2 separate regions of the Homo sapiens genome follow, and region 2 is linked to region 1. The links are contacts of gene promoters, found by promoter capture Hi-C in human tissues and cell types (Jung and others, 2019). All regions are on one chromosome and are shown on one strand. Each heading gives the region's core, a stretch centred on a gene start or on the middle of the fragment in contact. The rest is flanking DNA. Distances are from core to core; before and after follow the strand shown. Region 1 holds the start of RNF185 (ring finger protein 185). Region 2 overlaps OSBP2 (oxysterol binding protein 2).

Region 1 (3,740 bases), core at 431-2,930:
GTGTGTGAACTGGCAAGTCAAGTCTATAAGAGGACTGTTTTTATATGATGCATGGAAAGCTAGCCAACAGACTGCAAAAATTCTCTCACATCTATACACATATTGCTGAAGAGAGGATTCAAGCAGGGATTATGTTCCAGGGAAGAGAAGGCTGGTCTGAACAACCTCAAGGGGTGCTTTCAACTGAGAGTCCTCAATTTTGTGATTCAGAGTTCACTGGCTTCTCCTGGTCAAACATAAAATCTTCAGAGGCATTTCCAACTTGTTCTTAGAAAAAAGCTACTAACCCATGGGGTGGGACCCAGTTTACTTATTCATTCAATAAACATTTAAGGTGCCTCTATCAGATATTGGGTCATTCCAAAGTCCTTGAAAAGAAGGATGGTGCACAGGACAACCAGGAAGAGATTATGTAAGGTCAGATGCATTGGCCTTATTTACAGGAGATGTAGGCTAAAGTGATGGAAGTGTCAAAAGAGAAGAAAAAAGTCACATTTGCCTTGAGAGCAGAGTCAGCACCAGAAAGATGCAGAACAACTCCTTGGAATCACAGACTTTCAAGTTGGAAAGGACCTTCATCTAATACCTATATACCTCCCTCGAAAGGAGGCACGGAGGCAATCCATTCACTCCATCGGTGGTCACCTCTGACGATTCTTCCATTTAAGTTCTTCTATTAAGCAAAAATCTTGCCTTCCTGTAGAATTCACCTGTTAGTCCTAGTTCTGCCTCTTTTAGCCTAAAGATGAAGTGGAAGCCCTCTTTGCCGTAACAGTATTTTCAATTTTTAAAAAGTTAATTCCCTTCCAGTGCTCTCTTTACTGAGCTAACCATTCCAGTTCTTTCAAAGTTCCTGAACTGGCACCAGCTGCCTCAAAGCGAAGAATGGATATCTAGTGCTCACAGCAGGAAAGCACTTAAAATCAATGAGCTTCAAACATTAGTATATACAGGACCCCCCTACGCATAAGTTCAGATTCTAAACCAGAAGTCTGAATTGAGTCCCGCGCTGTAAAGCCGGCATCTCAGAGAATTACAAAGCAGATGGTGTAAGAACCATATTTTGAAAAACACTGCCCCGTTTTAGAGACGAGAAAACTGAGGCCCAGCACAGGGAAGAGATTTGGCCCAGAACGCACAATTGTCTGTCGGTGGCGAAGTCTCGAATCCAGGTCTCTTACTTTCAGCCCAACTCTGTTCACCGCGCTCCCCGGCCTCTGCTTCTCCACTCAGGGCAAACTCGTGAAATGCACTCCCAGATGATAGAGGCGGTCTCGCACGGGGGATAGAATGGGAATCAGTGCCCATGCCTCGAAAGGAGAGCTTGTGGGAGCCCTTCTCTTTCGCAAGGCCTCAGTTTCCCCAATCTGTATTCATGGGACGCAGAACCACAACGCCAGCTCGTCCTCTTTTCGGGGACAGACACGACCGGTCTTGCTGTCTCTGGGCCCCTGGGCTCAGATGTTCAAGCCCGTGTGTCCTGGGAAGGCGGACCCGGGTCTCCCGCCCCCGTCCCTAAACTTTGGCGCCCCCGCCCCAACCCCAGCCCCTCACATACCTGCCTCCGCACAGTTAACGCCAGCCCAGTCAATCAGTTTTTCGGGTACACGGCCAATACTAACGCCGCGTCAATCTGTTGGGTAAGACCTCCGACCCCTCCTACGCGGACTCCAGTCACATGACGCGGAGCCGCCCCTCTCGGAGGGACTTCCGGCCCCAACCGGAAGAGGTTAATTTCCATGGCTGAAGCTCTAAGGTTCCGCCTGCGGGCAGGAAGCGGAGGAACCTTGGAGCTTCGGCAGCTTTTCAAAGAGCTTTGGGTTCGGGGCTCCTAAAAGAAAAAAACTGATTCCGGCCGGGCGCGGTGGCTCCCACCTGTAATTCCAGCAGTTTGGGAGGCCGCGGCGGATGGATCACTTGAGGTCAGGAGTTCGAGACCAGCCTGGCCAAAATGGTGAAACCCCTCTGTACTCAAAATACAAAAAGTAGCCGGTCGTGGTGGCGCACACCTGTAATCCCAGCTACTCGGGAGGCTGAGGCAGGATAATCGCTTGAACCCGGGAGGCGGAGGTTGCAGTGAGCTGAGATCGCACCACTGCACTCTAGCCTGGGCGTCAGAGTGAGACTCCGTCAAAAAAAAAAAAAAAAAAGAGAGAGAGAAAGAACTAACTCATTCCGGAAAGTACCAGATAAACTTGGAACATCTTGTTACACCAGAATATAAGGATGATGGTAATAAGAATCATGGGAATGTGTCAAAGAACACAGGAGCTGTCTTTAAGGAGATCTTACTGGCCAAGTCAGGGCAATTTCAGAATCAAAATATGGAGTGATAGTAATAGAGTATAACTAATTGAATAAAATAGTAATCCATGAGTCTTTACAAACATAAAGAAGTGAGCATATTAATGGGTGAAGGGAAAGTCTTCCTTTTAGTAGAATGCTAGCTAATAAACATGGTGGAATTAGGAAATCAATAATGTGTGGTAAAACTAGAGAAACGGGATGTTTACAACAGCAAAAGTGTCTCCCATAAATTAGCTATTGATTACAAAGGGAAAATGGTGATGTTACAGAGGTTTAACCTAGCAGAACAAACAGATCAAAGTGATCAAAGTTAACACCACTAGTTAATGGGTCAGATCAAGGGCCTCCTAATAAAATGCACTGAGAACACATCTGTGGTATTTCTGTCAAAAGTGCACCGTACACATCTCATGAGGAAGTGCTAGAGAACCCCAAATGAAGGACACTGTCTACAAAATAACTCATTGTCATGAAAAACAGAGAAAAGCTGAGGAACTGTTCCAGTTTAAAGGAGACTAAAGAAGCATGACAACAAAATGTGGTGTGTGATTCTAAATAGGACCCTGGACTGGGGTAGTGGTGGTGGTGGAATAGTTGTAATGGACAATATTGGGACAAGTAATGAAATTTGAATATGGATTGTGGATTAGCTGTTAATACATATTGTATCAAATCACATACTGATAGGTGATGGAGCTTGTGATTTGCACTCAAGCAGTCATTGGAGTTCTTGACAGCCATCTTCATTCATTCAACAAGCATTTATTAAGTACCTACAGTTATCCCAGGAACGGTTAGGGATCGGACCTGAGTAGGAGGTGAACATAGTAGATAAAGGCCGGCGCGGTGGCTCACGCCTATAATACCAGCACTTTGGGAGGTCGAGGCAGGCAGATCACCTGAGGTTAGGAGTTCGAGACCAGCCTGGCCAACATGGTGAAACTCATCTCTACTAAAAATACAAAAATTAGCCAGGCGTGGTGGCGGGCACCTGTAATCCCGGCTACTTGGGAGGCTGAGGCTGGAGAATTGCCTGAACCCAGGAGACAGAGGTTATAGTGAGCCAAGATCGTGCCATTGCACTCCAGCCTGGGCGACAAGAGTGAAACTCCATCTCAGAAAAAAAAATAAAAAATAGTAGATGAAATAAGCTCATAGATGAAAGTCCTAGTCTGCCAGCCACCTTTGCAAGTTCCTGTGATCAAGAAGTAATACAAGGGATGTTTCCAGTCACACAAACCTGGATTTGAAACCAAGCGCTAAGAGAAAAACAGCCCCTGACATCCAGGAGATGGTCTGGCACTCACAAATAGACCTTGGTGTGTTCTCTTATTGAACATAAAAACTTCACAGAACATCAACATCAAACAAAGCCACTATGTGACCATGATGGATCAAGACAATAACAAAACCACTTGAATCATGTCTAAACC
Region 2 (3,740 bases), core at 528-3,027, 390 kb after region 1:
CACAGATGTATACTCATTGACATGGAATATCCACAACATATTGTCAAGTTTAATGAGTCAGTTATAAAACCAAATATTGGGATTCTCCCACTGATATAAAATTCTATATCTAGATTGTCCGGAATTCTTGCAGTGAAGATTTAACTGTCATTACTGCTGGGTGAGTAGATTTGAGGGGATTTGCACGGTCTGTGCTTTTCTTTTTCCATCAAATATTTTTACAAAACTTGAAGCGTTTTCTTAAAAGGCAGAAATGTTTAGGGACACACCTTTTGCTCCTAGCATTCTGACTGAAGGGCCCCAAGGTGGTGGCGCATTCATAACACAAACCACTGGCTAGCTTGAGGCCTGGGCACTTAACTCCAATGACAATGCTCTCCACAATGACCGTCACCTCACAGAGGAGTTGAGAAGGGCCCAACTTTATTGTTGGCTACCCCTATAAATGACAACAACTCCAATGGTGATCCTAGGCAAGGCTTTCGCCAGCACACACTCATTTGTCCCCGCAGTGGATGTCAGGTAGGCTAGGGCTGGAACTATCCTTATTTTAGAGACAAGGCAGCTAGAGCTTGGAGGAGTTGGTGGGCTTGCCCAGGTACCACAGCTACGTAGCCAAGGAAGGGCCCAGCCCCCCTGGGGAGTCCAAGCCTTGCCTCCTCTCTCTTATGAGCCACCTCTCATTGGTGGTCAGGACTGTCCTGACCACCCATGACACTGGTCCTCCACTCGGGAGAGGAAGACCATTAAGCATTGATCTTGCATAGGTACAAACTCAGACACCTGTGTTATTACAACAGCCAAGCATCCCTGGCCCCCACTGCGCTTCACACAAATGGCAGCAGCTGGAGGGCTAATATGGTGACTGCCACCGGACTGCCCCTTGCTAAGGACTCCACTGCCCCTGCTGGAGTGCCTCTCTAGCTTAGCTCTCTGGAGTCACCTTGAAGTCCCTCATGGCCTCCCACACTCGGTGATATCCTTTGGAAGGACTTGCTTTTCCAAGATGGCTCTGTGAGGACCCCGAGACTGCTTATCCATGTGGCCCAGAGCCTCTACACCCAGAGCCTGTGGACCAAAGTGACCACTGTGTCTGGCCAGAGCACCAGCGCCCACTTCTCACACTCATTCATTCATGCAGTCTCTCTCTCCCTCCTTCCCTCCCCCATTCCTCCAACAAATAATTCGAGCATGTCTACTCTGAGACAAGCAGGGTGGTAGGCACTGGGCATTCAGTGGCAAGCCAGTTGTCACAATCCCCACCCTCCTGTTGCTATGGATTATCAGGGAAGTCAAACACTAAATAACTGTACAGGTGAATAATCAGTGCAACTAGGGTGGGTGCTATGAAGGAGTTGTATAGCACTCTTTCCACTACGTGGGAAGCTGACCTGGGCTGGGGAGTCAGGAGGGTGTCCTGGATAAAAAGGCATTTAAGAGGCCAGGCACGGTGGCTCACGCCTGTAATCCCAGCACTTTGGGAGGCCTAGTTAGGCGGATCACCTGAGGTCAGGAGTTCGGGACCAGGCACATACCTGTAAGCCCAGCTACTCAGGAGGCTGAGGCAGAAGAATTGCTTGAACCCAGGAGGTGGAGGTTGCAGTGAGCCAAGATCATGACATTGTACTCCAGCTTGGGCAACAAGAGTGAAACTCCATCTCAAAAAAAAAAAAAAAATCGTGTTTAACAGGCTGGGCTCAGTGGCTCATGCCTGTAATCCCAGCACTTTGGGAGGCCAAGGCAGGTGGATCACAAGGTCAGGATTTTGATACCAGCCTGGCCAACATGGTGAAACCCTGTCTCTAATAAAAATACAAAAATTAGCCGGGCATGGTGGCAGGCGGCCTGTAATCCCAGCTACTCGGAAGGCTGAGGCAGGAGAATTGCTTGAACCCAGGAGACGGAGGTTACAGTGAGCCAAGACCACGCCACTGCACTCCAGCCTGGGCAACAGAGCGAGACTCCATCTCAAAAAAAAAAAAAAAAATGCGTTTAACAAGAGCAGCCGTTCCCCGTGTGGTATGTGACACCTCACAGGGCATGGGGCTCATGCCAGCTAACAGCCGAGGTGCTGAGGCCAAGAGAGGCAGAGGACATTACTCAGCTGAGGAGAGGGAAACCCAGACCTCAGAGTGTCCTCAAAGCCAGGCCTAACCAGTCCCAGGCTCGCCCAGAGCCAGCAGGGCTGCTCCTAGGACAGGTAGGACTTGAGGGCTTCTGTGGCCAGGCTCTGAAGGTGACACTTCTGGCTGAGCTCACAAAACATCTCTGCACAGGAGTTCTCTATGACACAGAGCTGCCTCATTCATTACAAGACATCCCACGGGCCAGCCTGGCTTCCCTGCTTCTGGTGCTTAACAGAGACAAGGAAAGATGGGCTCATTTGTGGCTGCAGGTCTTCCACGACAGGCACGGTACCAAGACTCAAGAGCCTAATTAAAATGAATACCCTCATTCCTCAGGAGAGGTTATCTCATTTCTGAGCTAAGTGTTTCTGACCATCTTCTGAAGAAAAATGTAAGGTGGCTGCTGTGGGGGAAGGAAAACCCACCACTCAGTCACTAAAACCAGAGCTCACCCACGGGAGTCCCAACTTGCAGGATCCATCCAGGCTCTCCAGAGGGCAGTGCCTGAGGCCACAGTGAATCGCCAACTCCAGCCTGCAAGGTCAGAGCAGAGCCTGCCGCAGGGGCTTGTCTCTGGCCTGATTCTCTGGCTTGCGGCTGTCTGATGGCCCTTATACCCTTCTCTGCTGTCACCTGGACTAAGGCAGGCTACTGATGTGGCACTGTGCACACCAAACATCTGGGGGCTAGAGAGAATGTTCCTTCTGTGTCTAGGCATTGAGGCCTGTGGACAAGCACAGCCTCTGTCCTTTCCATGGAAGGAGAGCTGGCTCCAAGCCGTGGAGAGCAGGGAGATCATGAAACAGCCAGGTCCTGCCTCTTGCCACAGCCTGAGCCCAAGCCTGAGCCCTTCCCACCTTCAAGCTCAGCCTCAGTTTCTATAGCTAATCCTGATTCAGGTGGAAGCTCTGGACCAATGGTTTTCAAATCATCTGCGGTGGATGGATCTCATGTTGCAAACAGATATCCTTCACCAAAGACCACTGGCCACAGAACAAGGGAAGCAACCTAGGCTGACAAATGAAGACAGCCTGGAGCCCACCTATTGGCACCCCCACTGGCAGGTGGCCCCTACAGAGAAGTACAGTAGCTCACACCAGCCCAAGGCTCTGGAACCACATGGAAGCCTTGGGCTGCAGGTGCCACTGTGTTCAGGTGTGCCATACATGGGCAGGGGCCGCCACTGTGCTGCCAAGAGCCAGCCTCCACTGGACTCAGCCCTTCCTGTGCTCATCAGGCCCTCCCCAGCACCCCAGGTTGCCCCTCTGGAGCCTCTGGAAGCTTCTATGATTCCTGCCTGTGCCCTCAGCAACTTGCCTTGTCTTCCAAAGTTTCTCTTCCACAATCTATGGTTGTCATGCCTGCCTGTCAGCCTGGCCTCCCTCCAGAGGAGGGTCTGAGCCCACCATGGTTCCTTGGCCTGGGCTAGACACAGGTAAGGGGGCAGCCTCAGTGGACATGGAGCCCAAACGACTTTTGCCTGCCCTCCTGCCGATGGCAGGGAGAGGACTAGAGGTGGTCATGGAAGGCTTCTTGGAAGAGACCAAGTCTCAGGAAGAGCCAGCAACGGGGACAGGATTTAAGGCTTCCTCGCTATATATACTTTGGTGGCCC

What was found. The method cuts DNA at HindIII sites, captures the fragments that hold promoters and counts their contacts. A contact is called where the count stands out against the background at its distance.
Region 2: a contact is called between a fragment that was not itself captured here and the fragment with the promoter of RNF185 in region 1, in 1 of the 25 tissues and cell types used here (lymphoblastoid cells).

Annotation. Positions count from the first base shown.
Region 1 is chr22:31,158,122-31,161,861 of GRCh38, reverse strand. It overlaps RNF185 (ring finger protein 185), which reads right to left and starts at 1,680. Exons shown (of 7, transcript NM_152267.4): 1 at 1,559-1,680. It overlaps MIR3928 (microRNA 3928), which reads left to right and starts at 1,743; the gene lies at 1,743-1,800. The HindIII fragment of the contact is 14,525 bases long and covers 1-3,740 here.
Region 2 is chr22:30,771,041-30,774,780 of GRCh38, reverse strand. The region is part of intron 2 of OSBP2 (oxysterol binding protein 2); the gene reads right to left. Among named protein-coding and RNA genes, the nearest start is that of MIR3200, 41 kb to the right of the region's middle. RefSeq lists an enhancer at 1,616-2,115. The HindIII fragment of the contact is 9,073 bases long and covers 1-3,740 here.